Linked DNA regions of Homo sapiens: all the other regions are linked to region 6. The links are contacts of gene promoters, found by promoter capture Hi-C in blood cells and fetal thymus (Javierre and others, 2016). All regions are on one chromosome and are shown on one strand. The core of a region is centred on a gene start or on the middle of the fragment in contact, and the rest is flanking DNA. Distances in the headings are between cores, read along the strand shown. Region 1 overlaps CDC7 (cell division cycle 7). Region 2 has its middle 48 kb from the start of HFM1. Region 3 overlaps LOC102723436 (a long non-coding RNA gene). Region 4 overlaps LOC105378856 (a long non-coding RNA gene). Region 5 overlaps CDC7 (cell division cycle 7). Region 6 holds the start of BRDT (bromodomain testis associated).

What was found. Contacts are between HindIII fragments. The CHiCAGO score rates a contact against its expected background, and 5 or more counts as called.
Region 1: a fragment that was not itself captured here is called in contact with the fragment with the promoter of BRDT in region 6 in 7 of 17 cell types (total CD8 T cells, naive CD4 T cells, endothelial precursors and 4 more); the score reaches 10.6 in total CD8 T cells.
Region 2: a fragment that was not itself captured here is called in contact with the fragment with the promoter of BRDT in region 6 in 3 of 17 cell types (M0 macrophages, endothelial precursors and monocytes); the score reaches 5.2 in M0 macrophages.
Region 3: a fragment that was not itself captured here is called in contact with the fragment with the promoter of BRDT in region 6 in 2 of 17 cell types (total CD8 T cells and naive CD8 T cells); the score reaches 6.7 in total CD8 T cells.
Region 4: a fragment that was not itself captured here is called in contact with the fragment with the promoter of BRDT in region 6 in 2 of 17 cell types (activated CD4 T cells and total CD8 T cells); the score reaches 5.1 in activated CD4 T cells.
Region 5: a contact is called between a fragment that was not itself captured here and the fragment with the promoter of BRDT in region 6, in 6 of 17 cell types (naive CD8 T cells, total CD8 T cells, M1 macrophages and 3 more). The highest score is 6.9, in naive CD8 T cells.

What each region holds. Positions count from the first base shown.
Region 1 is chr1:91,504,715-91,507,414 of GRCh38, reverse strand. All of the region lies in intron 2 of CDC7 (cell division cycle 7), which reads right to left. Among named protein-coding and RNA genes, the nearest start is that of CDC7, 5.2 kb to the right of the region's middle. The HindIII fragment of the contact is 3,462 bases long and covers 1-2,700 here.
Region 2 is chr1:91,451,198-91,453,897 of GRCh38, reverse strand. No RefSeq gene overlaps it. Among named protein-coding and RNA genes, the nearest start is that of HFM1, 48 kb to the right of the region's middle. The HindIII fragment of the contact is 2,193 bases long and covers 278-2,470 here.
Region 3 is chr1:91,545,681-91,548,380 of GRCh38, reverse strand. The region is part of intron 3 of LOC102723436 (a long non-coding RNA gene); the gene reads left to right. Among named protein-coding and RNA genes, the nearest start is that of CDC7, 46 kb to the right of the region's middle. The HindIII fragment of the contact is 2,350 bases long and covers 225-2,574 here.
Region 4 is chr1:91,486,764-91,489,473 of GRCh38, reverse strand. It overlaps LOC105378856 (a long non-coding RNA gene), which reads left to right. Exons shown (of 3, transcript XR_947599.4): 3 at 239-453. Among named protein-coding and RNA genes, the nearest start is that of CDC7, 13 kb to the left of the region's middle. The HindIII fragment of the contact is 3,637 bases long and covers 1-2,710 here.
Region 5 is chr1:91,525,247-91,527,946 of GRCh38, reverse strand. It overlaps CDC7 (cell division cycle 7), which reads right to left. Exons shown (of 12, transcript NM_003503.4): 12 at 2,183-2,700. All of the region lies in intron 4 of LOC102723436 (a long non-coding RNA gene), which reads left to right. Among named protein-coding and RNA genes, the nearest start is that of CDC7, 26 kb to the right of the region's middle. The HindIII fragment of the contact is 4,325 bases long and covers 1-2,700 here.
Region 6 is chr1:91,948,030-91,950,729 of GRCh38, reverse strand. It overlaps BRDT (bromodomain testis associated), which reads right to left and starts at 1,329. Exons shown (of 19, transcript NM_207189.4): 1 at 1,048-1,329. The HindIII fragment of the contact is 8,652 bases long and covers 1-2,700 here.

The sequences.
Region 1 (2,700 bases), core at 22-2,521, 440 kb after region 6:
ATTTTCAGAGAGAAGGCCTACTAAAGCTCTCAAGCATGTAAAAAAGTATTTTTAAAAATTTGTCCCAATTGCCAGTAGTATCCTCTATCCTTGACTGCAGATAAATTGCTACTTTTAAATAAGTATCAGTTCTTTATAAAAATGTACATAGTTAAAACAAGGGGAGGCAATAATACAAAACCCAGTAAACTACTGGATACAGAAGAGAACTAGATAAGTCTTCAGATTTTATTACAGTATCTAGGCTCTACTAGCCCTATATAGCATAAGTTTAAGACATTTTCAAAGCACCGGCACATGCAGTATCTTTTGAGGTCTTCCTAACAGTACTGTGAACTTGGCAGAGCAGGAATGATTATCCTGATTTTTCAGATAAGGAAACTCAATTCAGGGAGGTTAAATCATTTGCCCAATTTCACAGAGGTGTTGCTGATTATATATATTTTCTAATTTTCTTTCTTTTTTGAGATGGAGTCTCACTCTGTTGCCCAGGTTGGAGTGCAGTGATGTAATCTCCACTCACTGCAACCTCTGCCTCCTGCGTTCAAGAGATTCTCATGCCTCAGCCTCATGGGCAGCTGGAATTACAGGCACGCAACACCACGCCCAGCTAATTTTTGTGTTTTTAGTAGAGACGGGGTTTCACCACAATGGCCAGGCTGGTCTTGAACTCCTGACCTCAAGTGATCTGCCCACCTTGGCCTCCCAAAGTGCTGGGATTACAGGTGTGAGCCGCCGCACCTGGCTAGAACTAATTCATTTAAATAAACGCTGTCTTAAAAAATGCTCAGCAATGGGTATGTAAAAAAAACCAATAAATTTGATGCAGCCACTAAGAGCTTGGTCTAGTAAAGGAAACATGTTATCATTCTTAATACAAGGTGACACCTGTAATAAAAGAATGTATATACTACTAGGTTGGGGAGGATTTCTGAAGGTGATAGGAAGCCTTCAGTTGACAGCTAAGTTTTGTTCTGAAGCATTCACCAAGTAGTGAAAGTGGAAGAAAACATTTTAGGAAAAATTAACTACGTCTGTAAAGACAGGAACAAGAAAAAAAAAAGGCTTGGATGATTAGGGTAGGGGGAGGGCTGAGAGACAATGAAATACAATGTGGCCTGGGGCGGTGGCTCAGGCCTGTAATCCCAGCACTTTAGGAGACCAAGGCAAGAAGACTGCTTGAGGCCAGGTGTTTGAGACCCTATCTCTTAAAAAAGCTAAAAAACAAACAAACAAACAAAAATTAGCTGGGCTTTGTAACACGGGCCTGTAGTCTCAGCTACAGAGACTGAGGCAGAAGGATACCTTGAGCCCAGGAGTTTGAGGTTACTAAACTATGATCGTGCCACTGTACTCCAGCCTGGGTGATGGAAGAGGGAGACCCTGTCTCAATAATAATAACAATAATAACAATAATAGAAATAGAATGTGGCTGAGGAAGACAAGAGAGAATGCACATGAAAGCTATAGGAAGTTTTTAAGCAGAAAAATGACAAGTGGAGAACAGATGTGAAAGGGAGGAGAAACATTAAGGGTACTTCCACACCACTACTCACTTATTATGCATCTACTCCTCTTTACAAAAATCAAAATGTTTATTAAGGTTTCCTGTCACTTCAGAACAACTTCAACAATTTTAAACAACAGTAAAACTTCCTGGCAACCAAAGTGAATGCAATATCCTCAAATTCTGAAGTGGGAAATGACAGCAGAAAGCAGAAAAGTGCATTCATGTCAAAAGCTGGAAAACAGTACTAAAGACAGACAAATGAAACAGACTTTGAGGACTGGAGGAGGATCCCGAAAATCTATAATATGCTAAAAATTATTTAAATGCCTCTATTTTATACATGAAGGTCTAGGCTTCTATTTTGACATTTTAAGTCACTTTTGTTTTCTGCTGCATAATATATCCAAGTTGGTTTTAATATACCAATAGTCTCCTTAACTACACTCCTTGCCAGCCTGGAGTCTATCTGTAACATAGTAGCCAGTCGGCTTGCAACATAGCAAACAGAGTTTAAACAGAGTATTCTGATAAAGCTAAGTCACCTTGTCACTATTGTGCTCAAAACCTCTAATGGTTTCACATCTCACTCCATTAGAAAGCCTCTTTACATCTCTCTTTGACTTCATTCCAATTACCTTCCCCATTCTAGCCACAATGACCTCCTTGCTATTCTTGAATGCTAGGCACACTCCCATCTCAGGGTCTTTGTACTTGCCGTTTCAGGGTCTTTGTACTTGCCGTTTCCTCTGTTTGGAATGCTCTTCCCCAAATATCTGCACAGGTCACTCCTTCACCACCTTGAAGTCTTAGCTCAAATGTTACAGAAGGCTATGAGCAACCATACTCACTAAAATTACAATCTCCTTCCCCAATACTTCCTATCTCCCCTTCCCTTTTACATTTTCTTAGTAACATTAATCACTTTTGAGCACAGTATTTACTTCTTTTGTTTACTCTCTGTCTATTGTCTAACTACCACAGTGTTAATTTCTGTTTTATGGTTTGATTTATCCCTAGCACCTAAAAAAGTACATGTATATAACAGACAATAAATATTCATCACATAAATGAAACGTTTTCAATATCTTGTCATGGATTAAAACTGACACTCTAGGCATATAGTCATGGTTATTCTGGGGCTTCATGTACTCTCTGGTTTATACCTCCTGGAACTAGGGGATAATACATAA
Region 2 (2,700 bases), core at 125-2,624, 500 kb after region 6:
TTTCTACTAAATGACGACAATGATAAATCACATCTAAGAAGTTGAATGATTGATTGGATGTGGTGAATGAGGTGAAAGTAAGAGTCATAACCCTCCCCTCCCCCCAGTTCTTTATGACTTGAGTAACTCGATGTGTAATGGAGCCATATGATTGTTCTCTAAGAGAATAATAGTTATCCGTTTTGGACATACTCAGTGGTTTAGGGATGCCTTTGAGACATCCAAATTGAAATGTCCTATAGGCAGTTCTATATTCAGATATGTTAACTCGCAAGCTTAATCTGCACCAGAGAGATAACTTTGGGATTTGTCAGTGTATAGATAACTAAAGCCATGTGAATTGATAATATTTCCTCAGGGAAATATTAAAGAGAACAGAGAGTAGAGGGCCTAGGAAAGAATTCTGAGGAATACCAACATTTACTAGTTGGTTAGAGGATGAGAGACTGACATAAGAGACTTAGTATAGCCAAAAAAGTAGAAGGAGAATCAGCAGTGTGTGCTAACATGGAAACCAAGACCAGAGACTATTTAAAGAAAGGTGTGTAGGCGCTTCCTGAATGGTGATGTAAATTCCAAGCATAAAATGGCTGTAGCTCTGCATAGAGTTAAGTGTCTCAAATTTAGCAAGATTCTACCTGAGCAGACATGGTCACTGGCAGCAGTGTTCCCTGTTAGGGACCTTAAGGAGCCTTGGAAAAATCCTCTGCATCTATGCAGCATCTGCCCTGCCATGGCAGGGGGCACTATGTTTGGTCTGCATTTATGTATAATTTTCTATATAAATAAGAGAATGAAGAACTTCATTGGATTAACAACAATATAACTAAAAAAAACTTGGTATTCAGCAGTATCTGGATCAAATGTCTTTGGTGAACTTCAGCATAGCAATGGGGGTGGAATAATGAGAATGGGCTGAGAAACCAAAGACTTGCTCCTAAAAGAAGGGTGTGTGTGTGTGTGTGTGTGTGTGTGTGTGTGTGTGTGTGCATAAAGCAAATATATACTACCAAACATTAGGGGAAGAACTGGATCAGAGTGTTGCAAAACACCCTTTGAAAAGTTATTTTATACTCAGAAATTTTACTTTAGTATGTTAGTTTGATCTTTCTTTTCAAGAGCCATTAGTGATGGCTTTAAAAAATTAAGTCTGAAAATGCTGAACTCTTTCTGGGAATATTTGATGCCTACAGAGTATGGCTTGGAACCCTGACACCAGAGGAATGTTGTCGTCATTGATTAAAAGCGAGTAGCTGCATATGGCCTGTCCACATTAAACTAAGGTCAAAGTTCAAAACTCAGAAATATTAAACACACACTTAGGATGACATCTGACAACCTCAGTCTGCAGGATGGAACTCTAATAAAAGTTAAAGGACCATGTGCTGCACTCAGCCACACACTCAACTCCCACTGCTATTGAGAGACATCATTCTTGGCTTAAACCAGCAAAGCGGGATATGAAGGCATGCCATTCACTTGTACTCCCTTTGGGAACAAATTAACTTTGAAAAATTCCCAGAGATGTCTGATTCATGAAGGACCATGTAAAAAGGAAAATCCAGATGCTTCCATGAATAGTAGGGCAGTAGACATTTTCTCCTCTTGGGGTGAAGAGGATTGGAGGGGTTTGGGGGCAAGGGGGCAATTCTCCTTAAACAGTCATCCCCACACCCACATGCTCAAAACCATTTAAAATGGCTCTCCAGGCTTCATATTCTCTTTCATCTAAACCCATAATTAAGAATGGCTGTTTTTAACTCACTTTCCAAAGAACAAGGGTGCCGTATACCAGGACGTGGTAGCTACTGCGGTGCAATAACCCCAGAATTGCAGTAGCTACTAACCTGTTTTCCTCTTGTACAATTTTCATTCATCTCTGGCAAGCAGGCAAATACTAATCCGTACTGAGACCTGGAAGGTATCCCAAAGGAATCAACCTGACTCCATGCTTTGCCTCTCTAAAATACCCCTAAATGGGACTGTGTTACTGGTGGGACCTCACCGTAATTTTGTAGAAGACCAGAGGCTTTGGCATCAGACAGATCTGGTTTCAAGTCCTAGCCCTGCTACTTGCTCTCTGTATGAGCACTTTGCTTTGCCTTGATTCCTGTTTCTTTATTTGAATAATGGGCACAAATAGGGTTATTGTGAGAATTAAGTGAGACAATTCGTGTAAAATCCAAACACAGTATCTGACATAGAGTAAGGGCTCTGAATAAATGTTAACTGTTAGATATATTAAAAGGGCTGGAAATTATTATAAATTTAGCACAGTTGGAAATAATATTTCAAGTGAAAAGCTATTGGAATCATAGGTTTCTTCAAAGAGCCTCATACATAATAGAAATGCTTTTCTAAAATTTAGAGAAACTTTAAAGGAACTTTGATTATGATTTCTAAAAAGGCAAGGATTGAGAGACTTTAATAAGACATTCCTTTATCATGACAAAACTAGCCTAGGAAAGCTTCATCCAAGAATTGTCACAGCATCAATTTTAGGAACTCAGGTTGAAACAACATGCCTCCCCTGCCTCAACCCCACTTTGCATACATGATGATTATAAAATGAAATAAAATAACAAATATAATTATGCTGTGATAAAAAGCATTTTAAAACACAGTACAGAAATAAGTAAGATTTGGGACGGGCACGGTGGCTCACGCCTGTAATCCCAGCTACTCAGAAGGCTGAGGCGT
Region 3 (2,700 bases), core at 150-2,649, 400 kb after region 6:
GGACAGACAGTTCAATTATTAGAAAGTTGTCTACGGTGAAAACTGGGGACAGAAAGATAGGCTCTTGAGACCATATTTCTAAATCAGGGGCCAGTTTGGGAGGGAGAGGACCCCAGATCTGTGGCTGCTCAGATTTCCTCTCACCCTGTCCCTAGCCCACCATCTACCATCTATCTCCCTGATAGGATGGGTGACCATAGGTCCAGGTTGCCCAAGTTTAAGCTTGTTCCCAGAGCAGTCATTACTAAAGCAGGGATTCTTACACTTTTGTGTATACACCAATCACCTAGAGATCTTGTTAAAATGCAGACTTCTATGCAGTAGGTCTGGCTGGGTCCTGAGATTCTGCATTTCTTAAAAACTCCTAGGTGAGGCTGATGCTGTTTGCCTGAGGACTAGAGTAGCAAAGATCTACCTACCACTGGTTCTCAAATGTAACTATATCAGCATCATCTGGATTGACTCTGGGGTCCCAGACACACACACACACACACACACACACACACACGCACACACACACACGGTGTGCTTCAAGGGGGCTCAGAAAGACCTGCTCTGAAGTAGCCCCCTTCAAGAACTTCCATCTGCCTTTCCCACCAAATCTTTTTTTTTTTTTTAATTAAGGGAGCACAAACAAAAAATCACCGTGTTACCCTTAATGAATACATCTCAGTCTACACACAAGAGAAGGCATCATGGGACCTGGCAGCTCTCAGAGGGCATTGGGAGTGTAGCAGCTCTTCCTGCTCCAAAGAGCCACTCTAGAGTTTTCTAGAGTTTTTCCTTCAGACGTCCTGGTGTTTAGTTGTGTGGCATACATGAGGCTTTGTGGCAGTTGGTTAATATACTGTGGGACAAGAACTGAACTAGGCACTGTGTGGGACAGGGAAAGATGCACTCTGTGGCTTTAGGGAATTTGAAATTAAAAGATAAGATTTCAGATTCTTTCAAAGCCCGAGCTAAACACATGAAAAAAACAAAAACAAAAACAACAACAACAAAAAACACAGAACACCAGAGTGCTGAAAACAGAAGAATTGCAGTGGATGGGGTTGGAAAAGAAAGGCTTCCAGTTAGAAGTCAATTTCACACCGTGTTTTGCAGGAGCGAGTCCAGCGGATTCGTGGAAATGGATGGAGGCTGCTGAGTTGAGAGACTGAGAAGTGGAGGTACCTAGGAAGGTCCTCCCTGAAAATACATCGGGTTGTAAAACCTGGAAAGAAATACCTCCATTTGTCAGGCACTCACAGGGCGCTCTCCTCTGGCAGCTCCCATGTTGAGCGCCCAGGGCAGCGACCAGACGGCGTCCTGTCCTCCTGCACGGGGCCAGAACTGGATGGTCCCGCGACACATCGTGTCTGCAGCTTTAGAGGCCTCCCCAGGAGTGCTACCGCGGTCATTTCTGCCCAGCTGTAAAATAACACCCAATCAGCGAGCCGCCAGCTGCAAACTGTTCCGACCTACTCCTCCCTCCCCGGCTTAATTCCCACCTATACCAAAGTGGCCCCACGCGGGCAGAAGCGAAAGACGGAAATGAGGGGAGGCCAACTACTCGAGATCTGCGCCCGAAGCAGATTTTCCACGCGCTCAGAGTAGGGTCGGGGAAAGGCCCACTTGGGGCTTCTGAGAGAGAGGGAAGGGCAGGGAAAGGGCTGCCCCCCAGCAAGACACAGTTGGGTGAACAACTGAGTCTTTGCCTCGTTGACAAAGGAGAATGAGGGACTCGCGCCAGGCTGGCTTGAACTGACTGGAGAAAAGCGACTTCTGTAATTCAGGGCCCTCCTCGTGCGAAGGAAACTTTGGCAAAGCAGAAAGACAGGCATGCAGTTTCCAGGCGGAAAAACGTGAACCATGGGACATGATGGGCTCCAGGGCCGTGGATGCAGTTGCCCGAGGCCCCAGGGCCGCCCCCGGAAGGCCGGGACTGCCAGGGACTCGGCGTGGGGGTGCTGACTGCCGCTCCAGGCCTCGGGGTTCAAGCACTCCAGCAGCATCCGCTCACCACGCTCCCCGCCCACTTCCATGATCACGAGGGGGCAAGGCTAGCCAATCCGGGGTGGCCACTGCCCGGCCCTGCGAGGACTCGAGGCGCACTGGGAAACTGCGCGGTGCCTAGAGGTACAAAGAACAGGTCCTGGGAGGGTAGTAGGAGGGGACCTTAGCACAGCCTATGTCAGTTTGTCAACAAGGATTTGCTGAGAAGTCGCACTGTGCTCAGCATAGCGGCACTGCCTACCTAATGGGCTTTGGGGCATAGACAGTGAATAACCTGGCAGTGATAATAGTGTGCTGAAAGAAAGGCCAGCCCCAACAGCCACTACAGGAACCTCAGAAAGGAGGGGGCGTCCCTGTTAGTGGCTGATACTGGATTTCTCTCATTGTGTTCGTGGCTGGCGCCAAACCAGAGATCATAATGTATAACAAATAAATGTGAAGTTTCTTACATCCAAGTGGCCAGGGAAAACCTATACTAATTACATGGTACAAACCCGCTGTGATCAGGTGCTAAATTGGGTGGCAGTCAGAGTACAGCTGTAGAGATATCTCTGAGGGCCAGAGTGATCAGGAAAAGCTTTGTGGAAGAGGAAGAACTGGAGTTAGGTGCTGAATGACGGGCAGGATATGGACAAGCAGAGGAAAGTGGGAAGGCGTTCCAGGAGGGAAGGGGCAGCATAGCCAAAGCCCGGGGGATGAGCATGG
Region 4 (2,710 bases), core at 202-2,701, 460 kb after region 6:
CCTTTATGCGAAAAGTTTGCCAACTTGTGAGCGTCATAATTGCAGCTTGCATTGTGAAGTCAACATACAAATAAACCAAATGTCACTAAGGCGTGCAGAAGAAATTTTTACCATACAATACATCAGTTGTTTAATATGGAGAAACAAAGCACACAAATATTTACTTAGTATTTGTTAATTACAACAGCTCAGAATTGTGACTAGTGCTTTCTAATGGTAGTTTCTTTTTCTTGACAAGAGAGCAGCAGCTTAATCTTTCTATGTGAAAAAATACACTTGTCCCATGATCCTCCACAAGGCAGGAGATGGAGGAAATATTGCAGGAGTCTCTTTGCTGAAGTCTTTGTTAACAGCATGACCATGGATGGACAGTGACTGGCATTTAATTTTGACATGAGGAGGGAGGAGAAGCCAGCAATACTCAGTGCCTCTATTAAAGTGAAGGGAAAGACACACAGAGTCTTTTCTTGCTGCCACTTGTGTAGCTGGGAATGGGTTGTGGTAAAGTCAATAAAATTCTTCAACATCCTTCAATAACAATGATTCTAGTCCTTCTGAATGGTTCAAATTCTATGTTGATACTTATGTTCTCTAGTACATTATTCTCTCTCTAGCCACATGAAAAGGCTAGAGTACCACAAATGTCTCAAAATTTAGAGCTCCAAATTATGACACCTCTTTAGAAAGCTGGCAGGTCCTCTGGGTACTACAAAACTAGGGTTATATCCTCACTACCTAGAAATATCCCCTTGTGGTCATCTCTCAGAAAGGGTAACAGTGATCTCAGAGAATATGCTGTAGGGAGCTAAAAAGGATCCCTTGCCTTCTAAGCACCCTGAAGATCGTGAGCTGTATGTTTTAAGAATATATAGCTGGCCAGGTGCGGTGGCTGATATCTGTAATCTCAGCATTTTGGGAACCCAGAGCAGGTGGATCACTTCAGGTCAGGAGTTGGAGACCAGCCTGGCCAACACATCAAAACCCCGTCTTTACTAAAAATACAAAAATTAGCTGGGTATGGTGGTGAGAGCCTGTAATCCCTGCTACTGGGGAGGCTGAGGCCTGAGAATCACTTGAACCCGAGAGGCGAGGTTGCACTCCAGGCTGGGTGACAGAGTGAGACTCCGTCTCAAAAAAAAAAAAAAAAAAAAATATATATATATATATATATATGTATAGCCACTGTTTCTTCCAGCCATCACATAGCTAAGAAAATGGCTGAATGTGGCTACCAAAAAATAAAAGAGAAGGGAAAACAGAGGCCCAGGAATGAGAATGAACAGTGTCTCCTAGCATGTGATGTATAAGCATATCACCCCAAATAAATAGCAGTCTTACCAATAAAAATAAAAATTAAAAACACAATTATATTCAATTTTTAGATCCTGTAAGCAGACAAAATTATATTCGATTTTTAGATCCTGTGTTTAGATGAGTATTATTTAAACACTCATCTTCTATATTGCAAGAAATCACATCTCTGTGATCTATACTATGTTCCTGTGTTTCAATATTTCTGGTATGAAGCACATCTGGAACTTGTCAAAGAAAGTTAACTTTACAAGGTAGTTCCTTGTAGCAAGACCCCTGGCCAATGAGTTCTTTCTACCACATTTCCACTGTAGTTCACTCATGAGTAGTTACCATGAATATTAAACGTGAAGGATAAGTTCTCTTAAAGTTTACATTTTCCTTGAACAAATTGAGCACTTTATCATAAAATTGCTCTAACAACAAGCATTCCAAAATTTCTTTTTTCTTGTAAACCTTGAATAGACAGTTTTAGAAATGAATGTGATCACGTGATATGCCCACTTCCCTCTTTCGTGCCATTTTGTGGTTATGATTTTATATTTGACCTTTTTCAATATGAGGTTAGGAAGTCCTATGAAAGAAATTAATATAGGACTGATAATAGGGACTGATATAGTTTGGATGTTGTCCCCTCTAAGTGTCATGTGGAATTGTAATCCCCAGTGTTAGAAGTGGGGCTTGGTGGGAGGTGATTGGATCATGTGGGTGGGTTTCTCATGAATGGTTTAGCCTCATCCCCTAGGTGCTGTCCTCGTGATAGCGAGTTCTCAAGAGATGTGGCTCTTTACAAGTGTGCAGCATCTTTCCTCTGGCTCTCGCTTGCTCCTGCTTTTGCCACGTGACATGCCTGCTCCTGTTTCGCCTTCCACCATGAGTAAAAGCTCCCTGAGGCCTCCCCAGAAGCTGAGCAGATGCTGGCACCACACTTGTACAGCCTGCAGAACTGTGAACCAATTAAACTTCTTTTCTTTATAAATTACCAAGTCTCAGGTATTCCTTTATAGCAATACAAGAACCTCCTATAACATAGGGACTAAACATTCTTCTTAAAGCACCTGAGATGTTTTGGGATTCTGTCAAAACTCAACATCCCAGACTTTTGGTACTATTCAGTTTTGGTACATCCGGCACTGATGCAGTAATAACTCTTCAAGCATTCAGAATGTTAACTTACACTAAAATATGAATTGCTAAAGCTAGGACATATAAGATAGTGTCTGTCTGGGTTCCCCCAAAGCCCAGCAACATTTATTAAACAATGTGATTCCAGGGAGCAGGCATACAAAACAGGAAGGAGGAGAAGCCAAGATGAGTATGTATTAAATATTAAGGGTTTAGCCACTCCTGTGGATGACTGGCACACAATGCTGCAGTGTCTTCTGAGGAGGCTTTTGAA
Region 5 (2,700 bases), core at 140-2,639, 420 kb after region 6:
CATCTGTTTCTTATTTACTTTCTTGGTCTTGTCCTAGCTAAAGTCATTTCTAGATCATGTGCTACAGTCTTCAGAGAAGTTATGGAAGGAATTTACACAAAGGGCAAATACATAATTGAATACATGTATAAAAACACATCAATAGAATGTGGATAAAGAACATAGGCAAAAATTCTGATTAGAAGGAAATCAATGGATCTTTCATTTTCTGATTTGTACTACTCACTCCACAGCTGACAGTGTTCAGTTTCTTCAGGATGTCTGTCAGAAGCCCATTCCTTGATCCATCTTCTTGGTTGCCTGCTGGAGTAACACTGGCATTCTCTAAATCTAGAACTAGAGAGATGTATCTATAAAGTATTTATTCCCTATTTTCCTTCATATGTTGTTTTCTAGTGCTAAGCCTGTTATTTTCCTTAAAGAATTGCTTCAGTAGGGTCCAAGATGGAATCAGCTAATGGCTAACACATGATGTGTTAAATTCGGAAGAGTAATTTTGCACATGGTTTATGCTTAAATAGAAATTCTAAACCATTTACATCTGTTTTCTGGTCATCGTTCTTGCTTTATAAAAAAACTATGCGTATGCTCTCCAAATAAGTTTTTATTTTGCCCATTTTGAACTCTTCCATATATTAATTTTTTAAAGCACTCAAAACAGAGATCGAGAACAATTGTGTCCTTTTAGTTCATTGTCTTCTACAGAAGAAAAAATCAGGTCAGATTAAACTCTTGAAACTGTTGCAATTACTTGTTTTCCAAACTTCAGTTTTTTAATTTTCTCTCTTTTAATTTGCAATCACTTTCCTAAGATCATGCCTTTTTACTTTAGATAGCTAAAACATCGTTTACTAAATATTTGCCTTAGCACTGACCTTTGTGGTTACTTTGTTGAAAACTGTGCTGTAACTTGACACAATATTAACTACTTCTGATTACTTATCTGGTATACGTTTGGTAATATCTACCTTTCAAGAAAGGAAGACAGTTCAGACACATAATTTGACAAAATTAGGAATCAGCAACATCAGTTCTTCGAACATAGGAAAAAATCTGAACAGAGTTGACATTTCTATCTGGTGTTAGTGTTCTTTAAAGACCACAGACAACATGCACAAATGTAGGCGGAAACAATACATCTGCAGATACTGGCAGACAGCATTACCCGCCAAATTTGGCCAGTTTGTTAAGATAAATAACTTTTCAGTGACGTGCAGGGCTGAAATTACATAAACAACAGAAATTACTAAGACTTAAGCCTACGAGTTTTGTGGGTTTCAAGATTTTATGCAATCAATATTCTGACATCTGTAACACCATTTTGTCCCTAAAATGCTGATGCCAGGAACAGTAAGATATTAACGTTTTACTTGATGACTTGCTCATTATCTTGAAGTAAACCATGATTAATTCTTTGGAATAACCATTATTGAGCCACATATTTAGGTCATTAAGACAACTATAATCATCTCCTTATAAGGAAGTTTCATTAAAAATGCCAGAGAGCTCAGCCTGCTTCAAAAACCAATACTTGTAGCTTGTTATATTAATAGTTCTAAATGTCTAAGGCTTTTTAAATGAAAATACCCTTAACAGTTTTATCGAGCCTGAGCACTAGGAATTTTTAAAAACTGACAGTGAAAAATAGCTGATTAAGAGGAAATGGCATTAACTAGTTACCTTCTTAGTCTATCCTTAGAAATTCAAATATTTTAGAGACATTTCCCATTATTTAAAATGGTCTTCAGAAGGCTTAAAAATCTAAAGAATACGCATATAAAAGCTCCCTGCCAATTCTGATTTAGCACATTGGGAATATTTGTCCAAAATTGAGGCAATATTCTTCAGTGGGACTGAAATTCCCCGAGAACTAATTTGTAACACTGGGTATATTTAAAAACACTAGCTCCCTTTTACTTCCCCCTCAATATCAACCAAGTTCTTTGCCATTAATGAAAGTTAAAACAACAGCCCTGAATATTAAACTTTCTTAGAGAATGTCTCCTTATCTACCCTTTGGGTAAATTTTTCTTCCTCTTTAATTTCTGAATATATGTTAACATGACTGTTTCATTAACATACTATTTGCTGAAAGAATATCACCATTCACCCATCTCAAAAGAAAAATATTCCCAGTTGTCAATTAAAAAAAAAAGCTATTTTTCAAATGAGTAGTCTGACATAAAAAATATAAAAGGATAACTTTATTGAATATACAAATTCAAGAGCATTCAAATTTTTTTTAAGATTATGGCATAAGACAGATCAATGGTAATGGTTTATATATCCTATACTTACCAAACAGATTAGGTAGATATACTGACCTATCAATGCTCAAAATAACAAAATGAATACATGTCCCTAAACTATTTCTGTATTCTATGACTACTAAATGGGAAATCTGTCAGCTGACCACCCACCAGACTTTTTCCCATAGGAAGTTTGATATGCTGTCATTGATATATACCATTTCTGAATATAAACCTCTATCTTGGGTCCTTTTCTCTTTGCCTACTTCATTATCTGTCTTCCCAACCCACCTAAGACTTAGTCAAAACAGGATACAGAGATCTGGATGGCTCTACGCAGAGGAAAAATCTCCAATAATACCGTCAATTCTGTATTCACTTTTCCTTTCAGCAGCTACCTAATTATATCTAAGATGGTGTGAAAAAATATACAACTCAAAAAAGAAAAGCA
Region 6 (2,700 bases), core at 80-2,579:
GCCATAGCAGCTATCTGTATTAAAAAAAAAAAAAAAAAAAAAAAAGCAATTATCCACTGTCACATCCTACTCGGTGTACATACATCCATGCCTTTGAGAAACTTCTCTTTACCTGAACTTCCCTCCTCACTTTTTAGTCTAACTTCTATTTGTCCCTCAAGATCAAGACGAGTTATCACTTCTGCCCAAGAGCCTCTCTCATTCCCTCCCATCCACCCAGGCCTTTCCCTTGAGTCCCAAAGTCCCTGTACATACCTCTTTCTTTTTTGGGGGGAGCGGGGAGACGGAGTCTCACTCTGTCGCCCAGGCTGGAGTGCACTGGCGTGATCTCGGCGCACTGCAACTTCCGCCTCCTGGGTTCAAGCGATTCTCCTGCCTCAGCCTCCCGAGTAGCTGGGACTACAGGCGCCTGCCATCACACCCAGCTAATTTTTGTATTTTTGGTAGAGATGGGCATTTCATTATGTTGGCCAGGCTGGTCTTGAACTCCTGACCTCAGGTGATCCACTTGCCTCGGCCTCCGAAAGTGCTGAGATTACAGGGGCGAGCCACTGCACCCGGCCTCCTCTATCTTAATTCTTAATACAGGCCAGCGCGCCTTGAAGTAAAGCCCACCACAATCCTGCAGTACCCAAAAGAGGGTTCAGACGTTCCAGGGGCTTAATAAAGTTAATTGAATAAATAAATGAAGCAAGAACCCGAACTTCCCCGTCCCAAATGACCACTTGCAGAATAAACACAAAATGCCAGCTAAAGCTAAACGCTCCGTACTTTCTCCTGCATTTCCAAAATTACAGTACAGGCAGCAGCGATCCACACCAGTCCAAGACCTAAGAGGAACTACAAAGACCATGAGTATTTTTCAAAATGGGAGGAGGCAGTTGGACAACTGGACCTCCCACTCCCTCGCCCCAACCTCCTCCTTCCCAGCCCTCCCTTGAAGAAAAACCAGACATTTAGGGGAAAAGAGGGAGAGAGAGAAAAAGATCCCTTGGGGGCAACGAGCCTGAAGTTGGTAAGGCCAAAGGGAAGCGACTGGCAACTCACCTGGGCTGCAGGCACGAAGCGGGGTGGCCTTCTCAACTGCCCGGACTGTCGCACGATGTTGATGGGGTCGGGGAGGGGAGAGGGGGGAAAAAACGGTTGTTCCCACCCAAGGCCGCACCTCGGGGCCGGCCTAAGGCAGCACCCCCTGTGGAGGGTACATTACCTGTATGTTACCTGTATATTACAAAACCGACCTTATGTGATTGCCCCTTTCAGGCTGCACAAAATGAAGCGGTGCAGGGCAACAGTTCTCCGCAGTTCCTCGCCGCCAGTTTTTGTTGTAATGGCGGTCGCGCGACAGGCGCTTTTATAGAAGACCCCCCGCGGGCGGCCTGCCCATTGGTCTGAACCTGTCACGTGACCACACCCAGCCCCGGGCGGTGCAAAAAAGGTGTAGGAGTCTGAGCCGGGCAGCTCAGGCCTGTTAGGGCAGGCAGAGTGGGTTCGGGTGATTGCCGTGTAGAGAGCCGGGGGTTAGGAGTAGGAGCGCTACACTCAAGGCGTTTGCTGTTAACACGACGTTTTCACTAATCAGTTAGCCTAGTAGAGGTTCTTGAGTTTTGGCTTCTGATGTTTTCGTGGTTTTCACGCTTTTTTCCCCAGCCTTCTCCACAGTTCCTGTCTCTTGCACGTAGTGAGTGCTTGATCAATATTAGGTAGCAGCTGAGGCTAGAGACATACTCTCTTTGGGTTTAAAGTGGCAATTTAAGAGCTGTTTCGCAACAGCTGCGTACTGATGAGTGCGTGATTTAGGATTTTGAGTCTTCGCAACTACCTCTTGATGGTTTGCAGATACTTTAGAGGTGCTAACATGTATCAGAAGAATATATTTAGTACAGTAGTTTCCCTTAGGATCAAATAGCAAACAACGCTTCTGAATTCCTAATACTCATTCGCAGTGGATGGATGGGAAGGGGAGGGCAAAAACAGCTGACAAGCTGCTCGCAAATCCGGCCAAAAAACCATCGATCTCCAGTTTCCTGAAGCGGAAGTCTGGGGGCCATTAACAGCTTGACACGTCTTAATTCAATCACTTTGATGTGGCAGGAAAGAACCAAGTGTTCACAAGAAAGCAACGCACTTGATCTACTTACTAGACGTCACATAAATACCTGGATTGGCAAGCACTTTTTGTTTAGATTTAATTTTCGTGTTCTTGTTTTTGCTGTTTAAAGTAGTATTAATGGTGTGGCTGCAGGCGCCTGCAATGCCCGTTACTGGGGAGGTTAAAGCGGAAGGCTCACTTAATCCCAAGGTTTCAAGGCCAGCCAGAGCAACAACGTGAAACTCTAATAGATTAGAGATTAGATATAGAGATTATCTTATTGTTCAGGAAAAGAGTAGATGGGTACAGACTTAGGGTGTGACTCTCACATCATGAAAAATCTGAAAGAAGTCAAGGGAAATGAAAGAGAGGAATGACTCAGTACAAATTTTGCCCCAACTATCAACTTTTTGACCTTCCTCTTGAGAATTAGTGGCAGGGAGACATGTACACTCTAGGTAAAGAAGATTGAGTGATTTTTTTGAGATTGAGTCTTGCTCTGTGGCCCAGGCTGGAATGAAGCAATGCAATCATAACTCAAGGTAGTCTCGAACTCCTGAGCTCAAGCATCCTCCTACCTCAGCCTCTCCAGGTACTGTAGGTGCAGA